3 separate regions of the Homo sapiens genome follow, and regions 2 and 3 are each linked to region 1. The links are contacts of gene promoters, found by promoter capture Hi-C in human tissues and cell types (Jung and others, 2019). All regions are on one chromosome and are shown on one strand. Each heading gives the region's core, a stretch centred on a gene start or on the middle of the fragment in contact. The rest is flanking DNA. Distances are from core to core; before and after follow the strand shown. Region 1 has its middle 7.2 kb from the start of IL2RB. Region 2 holds the start of LGALS2 (galectin 2). Region 3 holds the start of SH3BP1 (SH3 domain binding protein 1).

Region 1 (2,991 bases), core at 1-2,500:
TATTTTTTTTAGACGGAGTCTTGCTCAGTCACCCAGGCTCGAGTGCGGTTGCGCAATCTTGGCTCACTGCAACCTCTGCCTCCCGGGTTCAAGTGATTCTTCTGCCTCAGCCTCCTGAATAGCTGGGACTACGGGGTGCCCACCACCACGCCCGGCTAATTTTTTTTTAATTTTTATTTTTGGTAGAGACGTGGTTTTGCCATGTTGGCCAGGCTGGTCTCGATCTCCTGACCTCGTGATCCGCCCGCCTCAGCCTGCCAAAGTGCTGGGATTACAGACATAAGCCACCGCGCCCAGCCCTCCCCTTCCTATCTTGGCATAGCTACGTGGCATTCCACTGGATGGAAGTTCCCTAATTTGCTCATCACCTGTCCCCTATGGATGCGCATTTTGTTGGCCTCGGGTCCCGTGACTGCAGGAGTTACTTTGTACACACGTGTTCAACATGGGTCACTCTGTTGATGAGTTTTAGGTGTGGAATTGCTGGGTCATGTGTCAGAGATGTTGGTAGATGTCAGATTGCCTTCCAGGGAGATGCTTGAAGCCCACGCCAGCAGGGTGACTCGCCTTTTCAACCTGCCTTTGATGGCAAAGCTTTTGAAACTTCAAATATGCTATCCTGGTGTTTTTAATGTGTATTCTCAGGACTCTTCAGGGTATTAGGGACTTAGCACTTTTGATTCTTTCTCTTTTCCTTTTTTCCTTCCTTCCCCTCATATTGACACTGTCCGTATGTCAGGTAATTTTCTGGGTTCTGGAGTGGTGTGGATGAATCCCACACTGTTCCTGTTGTCCAAGAGCTCCTGGTGTAGACTCATAAGCAAGGCTCTGACATGAGATATGGTAACTGGCTTGTGCCCAGAATCTGCCTTGGCCAGAATTGGAGATCAGGGAAGGACTGGTTTTAAATCGGGGAGCTGATTAGTCTGAGTAAGTAGGGTGGGAATATGGTGACCAACTTTGTCCTAGGAATATCACTGTAAATCTTATGTTCTGGAAACCCCCCTCAGTCCCAGGCACAGTGGGACAGCTGGTCACCTTGGCGCGATCCTGGTAAGGAATGGCATGGTTTGCACAAGATAGGAGCTGCTCAGGGCGCTGGTGCTGGTGTGGCTATGAAGCAGGCAGCTCCCGGATGAACAGGGAAGAACGTGGGGCTTCAGGTCTGGAGCCTGGGGGGCTGGCGTGGAGGTGGCTGCTGTGGCAAAGCAGAAGTAAGGGTGATGGCTTGGAAGGAGGGGGTGAGGGAGGGAAGGAGTCAGGGAGAATGGCCACAGTCTGTCTTGGGGACTGGTGGGTGGGGCGCCTCCAGTGAAGAGCAGGTGTCAGCAGAGGGGCATGCTCGGAGGACAGCCCTCAGGAAGTCGGCCGCTAGCCTGCTCTTTCTCCTTGTTCTGCTCTGGCCCCTCTGTGGGCCCCTGCAGCTTTGTGATCCTCATTTGTCATGAGGGGTACCCCACAGTCTGATGGGGACTGGGCGGAGGGTCAGACACCAAATTATGTATACCATAGTCCTCCTGACCAGGGACCAGGACTCAAAACCAGGTCACTGGTGAGGCCTGGCACTGTGGGGGCAGGACTTTTTTTCCAGCTGGGGACTCGGCTACCTGCTGACTTTCCAGAAGACAGGTCACAGCACCGAGCAGGGGTGGGCGGAACACAAGGACTTGAGGGTGGGTGACAGTGTCAGCTGGCTGAGCCAGGGAGGGCAGGAAGGGAGGTGGCCCTGGAGATACTGGAGGTCTTCACAATGGCAGAGGACAGGCGGTGGCAGAGACAGTGAATGGCACCCCCAAACCTGCTCTCCCCTGCCCGTGTGCCCTCTACTTATAGCTGGCTACATCTCCCAGCCTCCTCTGCAGCTTGGTTGGCTATGTGACTCAGGCGTAGCCAATGGGATGTACATTAGAAGTGGCTACGGCAGCTTTGGGGAAGGGTCCTTAACAGGCAGAGGCAAGCCCTCCCTCTCTCCTTCCTTTCCCTTCCATCTGCAGGAACGCAGAGGTGATGGGTGGAGCTTGAATAGCTCTCTTGGTCTATGAGGAGATGGGAGAAGGATATTGAAGAGACCCTAGTAGCAAGCCAGATTTAGCTCAGGATCCTGACATCATAAAGCCACCCCACCTAGCCTGGGTGGCCTCCCTTTGGACTTCTTTTATGTAAGAGAGAAATAAAGCCCTCTCTTATTTTAGGTCACTGTTTTCTTCTTCTGTTCTCTTTGGACACACGCAGCTGAACTTCATCCTAACTGGGACACTGTTGTACAGTGGAGGCGGTGATGGCAGCACGCGGGTGAGCTGAGGTGGAAGTTCAAGGGGTCTTGGTTAACACAGGTCAGAATGATGGCAGGGTGCAAGTGCAGGCCTGGGTGTGGGACTGGTATGGAGCAGTTCAGAGGGAACAGGAGGCTGGAGGCTACAGTGTGGACCCTGACATCTCCTGGGAGGCGGAGTGGAGAGGGAGGCTGAGCGCAAGGGCCAAGCACTCCAGTGAGCAGAGGGAGGACGGGTAGGGCGTTTGGCAGATACCAGGACTGAGGAGGATGCAGTCTGGCTTGGCCCCAAAAAAGACAGCCCAAGGACATCAGGGCTGGAAGACCCCAATATGCCCTTGTCCCATGGCCCCTGTGAAAGAGGGGTCTGGGTCCAGTGGTGGGAGGGCTGTGGGACTGGGTGCATGGAAACAGAGGGTATGAGGCGGTTTGTTCCCAGTGGGACCCATGAAGATGCAGCGCAGAGGGTCAGGTGGGGATGTGGAAGACGTAAGAGAAGTAGTTATAGGAGCAAGGCGTGGAGCTCGTGGAGGAGGCTGGGTCCAAACCCCAGCACTCCTGAGACCCAGGTCTGGGTAGGCCCGAGTGGGCTCTGTCAGGGCTCTGCCATCAGAGAAGCTTCTGGATTACATCTCAGGTTGCCTCAGAGAGAATCGGATGTCCTCTGGGACAGACCTAGGTTCTAATCCTGGCTCTGCCACATTCTGGTAGGATGACTC
Region 2 (2,708 bases), core at 179-2,678, 420 kb before region 1:
GCAGTATTTTTAATAGCAAAAATGTAGAATTAATGTGAGTGTTCAGCAGAAGGAAATTGGTTAAATAAATTCAGTCGTTGAAAGGTAGACTATTTCGCAGGCATTAAAGTATGGTTCTGAAATATAGATTTGTGGTCTTTAATGTTTCCCAAATGAAGAGAGATAAACAATTGCACAGACAGAGGGGTGTCTATAATGTAAATCTGTGGAGAACCGCCTGGAAGGAAATGTGCCAACAGCGTAAGCCAGTTCCCTCGTGGCGGTGGCATTATGAGTGATTATTTTTCTTTTTATTTAATATCTCTAATTGTCTATAGTAAGCATGCCAGTTACATAAGTAACAGAAGTCAAGAGCAAAGCATTTTCATCCTCCATGTCCCCCACTCAGCCCTCCCACTCCTTCTGCACTTTTATTTATTTTTTATTTTTTTATTTGAGACGGAGCCTCACTCTGTCGCCCAGGCTGGAGTGTAGTGGCGCGATCTTAGCTCCCTGTAACCTCCACCTCCCGGGTTCAAGCGATTCTCCTGCCTCAGCCTCTTGAGCAGCTGTGACTACAGGTGCGACCACGCCCAGCTAATTTTTGTATTTTTAGTAGAGATGGGGTTTCACCATGTTGGCCGGGCTGGTCACAAACTCCTGACTTCAGGTGATCCGCCTGCCTTGGCCTCCCAAAGTGCTGGGATTACAGGCTTAAGCAACCGCGCCCAGCTCTCCTCTGCTTTTGACCATTTGTTGTAAATAGTTTGAAATCTTTTCTTTGAATCCGTGTATTGGTTTTGAAACCTACATGTCCGATCAGATAAATAATATGGGGAGGGAAGAAGAAAACATAATGCTCTCTGACAATGAATCATAACATCATAGAAAATTAGAACCTTAGGCCAGGCGCAATGGCTCACGCCTGTAATCCCAGCACTTTGGGAGGCCAAGGTGGGCAGATCACGAGGTCAGGAGATCGAGACCATCCTGGCTAATACGGTGAAACCTCGTCTCTACTAAAAATACCAAAAAATTAGCCGGGCATGGTGGCGGGTGCCTGTAGTTCCAGCTACTCGGGAGGCTGAGGCAGCAGAATGGTGTGAACCCAGGAGATTGCATTGAGCGGAGATCGTTGCCACTGCACTCCAGCCTGGGTGACAGAGTGAGACTCTGTCTCAAAAAAAAAAAAAAAAGAAAATTAGAAACCTAGACTTTTTTTTTTTTTTGCAAAGCAAATCTCTCTTTTTACAGGCAAGGAAGCTGGGCTAAGTGAGGGAGGCTGGGAGAGCTGTCAAGCGGCTGCATTGCGGTTTGTGTGGGGGCAGAGCTGGGGCTGCTTCCCCTCTCGGGCTCTGGGAGCGCTGAGGAGGGGGAGGCTGGGCTGGAGGGAGGCCAGGAGGATGCTCCGGGCTGGGTGGGGTGGAGCTGGCTGAGGAGTCTTCTGCCTGTTTGTGCTGGGTACTGGGAGATGCAGGCGGGGAGACACAAGGTAGAAGGGGCAAAGTCCTCACCTAGGACCTTGAGGGAGTTAATGTGTAATATTCTAGGATATAAGCTTGACCACGAGTTGAGACCCTGAGCACAGGCCTCCAGGAGCCGCTGGGAGCTGCCGCCAGGAGCTGTCACCATGACGGTGAGGACACTAGCCCCCTGCTGCCTGCCCCACTCTGTTCATCTTTGTCTTTGCCTGGGTGGGGGCTTTTAGGGAAAACCATTGCTGTCCCTCTCTGGGCCTCAGTTTCCCCATCTGTGCAGCAAAGAAGTTGGACAGAGGTCTTTTTTTAAAAAACAGCATCTTGGGCCAGGCGTGGTGGCTCCTGCTTGTAATCCCAGCACTTTGGGAGGCCGAGGCTGGTGGATCATCTGAGGTTGGGAGTTTGAGACCAGCCTGACCAACATGGAGAAACCCCGTCTCTACTAAAAAAATACAAAATTGGCTAGGCCTGGTGGCACATGCCTGTAATCCCAGCTAATGGGGAGGCTGAGGCAGGAGAATCACTTGGACCTGGGAGGCAGAGGTTATGGTGAGCCGAGATTGTGCCATTGCACTCCAGCCTGGGCAACAAGAGTGAGACTCCATCTCAAAACAACAACAACAATACAGCATCTTGCTCTGTCACCAGGTGGAGTGCAGTGGTGGCAATCATAACTCACTACGGACTTGACCTCCTTGGCTTAAATGATCCTCCCACCTCAGCCTCTTGAGTAGCTGGGACCCCAGGCACTCACTACCACACTGGCTAATTTTGTTTGTTTCTTTTCTTTCTCTTTTTTTTTTTTTTTTTGAGATGGAGTCTCGCTCTGTTGCCCAGGCTGGAGTGCAGTGGCCCGATCTCAGCTCACTGCAACCTCTGCTGCCTGGGTTCAAGCAATTCTCTGGTCTCAGCCTCCCAAGTAGCTGGGATTACAGGTATGTGTCACCACACCTGGCTAATTTTTTTTTTTTTGTTGAGATGGAGTTTCTGTTGCCCAGGCTGGAGTGCAATGGCACGATCTCGGCTCACCACAACTTCCACCTCCCAGGTTCAAGCGATTCTCCTGCCTCAGCCTCCTGAGTAGCAGGGATTACAGGCATGGGCCACCACACCCGATTAATTTTGTATTTTTAGTAGAGATGGGGTTTCTCCATGTTGGTCAGGCTGGTCTTGAACTCCTGATCTCAGGTGATCCACCTGCCTTGGCCTCCCAAAGTGCTGGGATTACAGGTGTGAGCCACTGCTCCTGGC
Region 3 (2,970 bases), core at 471-2,970, 480 kb before region 1:
CAGCCGCTGTTCTACCTGGGAAGGAGGTATGGAGGTTAAGGATCAAGAGAGGCTGTCTCCCCCTGAGCAGGAAACTTTCTCCTGTCCCCTGGGGACCCCATGGCCAACAGCTTGAGGAATGACTCAACCCAGGCCCCTACCTGGCGTCCCCGCCCCGGCCCTCTGCTCCGAGACAGCCTGCACAGGCCTGCCTTCCCACCTGCCCGGCCCAGGCACGTACCTGCAGCAGGTCCTCACCCAGGAACTCAGCGGTCTCCGGGGTGCTGCGGGGAGTGGTGGGGGGGGGGGGGAGAGTGCTTCTGCTGAGCCTGCCTGGGTTAGAACGCCCCCTACTTCCCTTCCCCGCAGCAGGGCACCTGGACCCCAGTGCTTCCACTGTCCCTCCCAGCTGAGGCCTGCCCTGGGTGGCCCAGTTGCTTCATCCCAGTCGGAGCACATTCCATGGGGGTGGGAATAGGATACATGGGTTTTTCCTCCTCCACCCAGGGCTGTGTCCTGAGAGAGGGCGGACAGATGAAACTAAAGGGGAGGCTGAGAGACCCACCCGGGGCCCAGCTTTGGGACACAGAAGCCTCTTTTCTGCCCACTCCCAAATCCTCAGCCCACCCCGGGATGAGGAGTATTAGCTGGCCCCAAGAACGGGAAGTGCAGGAGCTCAGACTCCTAGGCACAGTCACACAGCACTCTGGACTACAGCTGTGGGCAGGGGTGCACAGGCCCTTGGCCCCCACCTGGGGACACATGGGGGATGCCAAGGCCCACTGCAAGGTGGTCTGACTGTCCAGGCTATGTAGGCATCTGTGCCAGTGTGAGACTAGAACCAGGTCTCTGGACACCCAGTCCCCTCCCTGGACCCAGAGAATGGGGAACTCCTGAGGCTGGGGGAAGAGGAGCAGAGAAGACAGGCTCTGAGAGGCTCCCCAAACTTCCGGCCTCCGTGCCACCGGCTCAGAGGCTGGGGGTGGGAGCTGGGAGACCTGGGGATATTTCCACCTGAGTCCAGGAAAAGCAGAAACGAGACAGAAGCAGGAGGCCCCTGGGCTGGGGGGAGGGGGAGGGGGAGGGACGCTGCAGGCCAGGGGCAGGCCCCTCCTCCCACCAGGCCAGGACCCATCTCCTCCCCTCGCCCCAGGTCTGTGGCCCTAATCGACCCTCCTCCCTCCCCGGCCCAGCAAGCAGAGGTGGTGAACTGTCCCATTGTCCAGAGGGGACAAGTGAGGTCAGGAGGACCATCCACTTAGAGACTCGTGGAGGCAGAGAAGTCCCAGCGTCCTAGGGCAGAGAGCATTCTCCCGCCTGAAGCCCCCTCCAATCCGGTAAGGGGGGGCATCCCTTCCCCCAAAGGCCACCCTTGCTCCTCCAGCTCTGCCCGAGAGACGGGGGCGGCGTTCAGAGAGGAGGAAGAGAGAGCAGGAGTCTGGCCGCTCAGAGGGTGGCTGCCCAGCTGTCCCCAGCCTCCCCCACCCCCGTCTCCCCCGACCCTTTTACGACCCCTCAAGTCCTGCCGGGGTAAGAGTGGGGCTGGAAGCGGGTGACACTCACCGTCCCAAGCTGCCCGTCTGGGCCAGCTGCCGCATGCGGTGCAGCTGCCTCTTCATCATCTTGGGGGCGAGCTGGGGGCTGCGGGGTCACGGCGGGGGTCGCGGGCCCGGGGAGCCCCCGGTCCAGCCTGCCTCTCCTGCGGCGCGGCTCTTGCCCCGGATGGGTGGGCGGCGCTCTCGCTTCCTGGGCCGCCGCGCGGCTCTTGCTGGCGGCCGGCTCTCTCCTCCCCCGCTCACGACTCCGCCCCCGGCCCCCAGGTCACTCCTCTCTCCAAGTTGGTTTCCTCGCTCTTCCCCGGCTTCCGGGCCCCCGGGCGACCCCCGGCCGGGCCCCCGCTGCTGTGTGTCCGCCGGCCGCGGCCGTCCACAGGTTGTGCCCGGCTCCTCCTCCCCGCAGCGCCCCGCCCAGCCCCGGTGGCGGGAAGCAGGTAAGCCCATTCCTGCCCCTGCGCCCGCAACCCGCCCCAGGCGGGGTGCCTGCCCCACCCGCAGCCTGCAGACCCGAAGTATAAATAACCTTTGCATCCCTCGCAAAGAGGAAAGGGTACCAAGCGAAAGAGGGGTAGGCCTTTCTGACCTGTCCTGGCCTCTCTGGGCCTGCCGCGGATACTGCCTTGCACTCTCTTCCGCAGAGGACCTCTGGCCCCCTGGAACTAAACCCCCCACCACTGGATGACTGGCTGGGAGCTTTGGCTTCCTGGGGCCACGGGCTGCTGTGTGGCCGTGGACAAGCCCCTGGAACTCCGGACTCGCTGTTTCTAATGGTCTGATGGGCCAGCTGTCCTGGGCCTGCCCATTCTGCAGAGTGGACAAGACACCCCTGCCAGCTCCCTTTAAGGGAGGTGCGTGCCACCCCTCAGCCACCAGGAACCCTCCCAGAGCGGTTCGCGACACCCTGTTCTCCACATCTCCTGGCAGTTTGCTCCATCTGTGAAGCCCGTCTCCTCTCATTCCTCCTGGCAAACAGCCTCAGTCCCCCTTCCTTCTTGTAGGGCAATGATGTAGGTGCTGCTCTGACTGCCCCCAAACTCAGTAGTTCTCCTCTTTGGCCCTCCACTCAACACAGAGTTAGGCATACAGTAAGTGCTCCATAACTGCTGGTTTTACAAGATGTGAGCGCCTTTAGGAAACAGTAGGCTCTCCTTACCCTGCACCCCTGTGGCATCAGGAGCCGCAGGCGTGGGGAAGAGGGGAGGGTGTGCCCCAGAGTCCTGCCACACCCTCTGCACTTTGCTTTGTTAGTTTCAGTTTAGTTTGAGACTATTTGAGCCACTACTGTGTGCCGGTGCAGACTGTGTGCCGGTGCAGACTGGGCGCCTCTCAGAGGCAGGACCTTGGCCCCACACATCTCCATACTCCCAGCACCTAGCCCAGGGCCTGGCACACTCACTGGCTGCTTCTCTCCTCCCTAATGAGGCAGGACTCATTG

Evidence for each region. The method cuts DNA at HindIII sites, captures the fragments that hold promoters and counts their contacts. A contact is called where the count stands out against the background at its distance.
Region 2: a contact is called between the fragment with the promoter of LGALS2 here and a fragment that was not itself captured in region 1, in 1 of the 25 tissues and cell types used here (dorsolateral prefrontal cortex).
Region 3: a contact is called between the fragment with the promoter of SH3BP1 here and a fragment that was not itself captured in region 1, in 1 of the 25 tissues and cell types used here (spleen).

The regions. Positions count from the first base shown.
Region 1 is chr22:37,155,576-37,158,566 of GRCh38, reverse strand. It overlaps a transcript of IL2RB not described here. Among named protein-coding and RNA genes, the nearest start is that of IL2RB, 7.2 kb to the right of the region's middle. The HindIII fragment of the contact is 5,288 bases long and covers 1-2,991 here.
Region 2 is chr22:37,578,807-37,581,514 of GRCh38, reverse strand. It overlaps LGALS2 (galectin 2), which reads left to right and starts at 1,428. Exons shown (of 4, transcript NM_006498.3): 1 at 1,428-1,615. The coding sequence starts at 1,610. RefSeq lists a silencer at 1,042-1,101. The HindIII fragment of the contact is 22,309 bases long and covers 1-2,708 here.
Region 3 is chr22:37,638,419-37,641,388 of GRCh38, reverse strand. SH3BP1 (SH3 domain binding protein 1) reads right to left here and starts at 1,720. Exons shown (of 18, transcript NM_018957.6): 1 at 1,543-1,720; 2 at 221-263; 3 at 1-15. The coding sequence starts at 1,601. RefSeq lists silencers at 1,503-1,942, 1,973-2,122, 2,753-2,970. The HindIII fragment of the contact is 22,988 bases long and covers 1-2,970 here.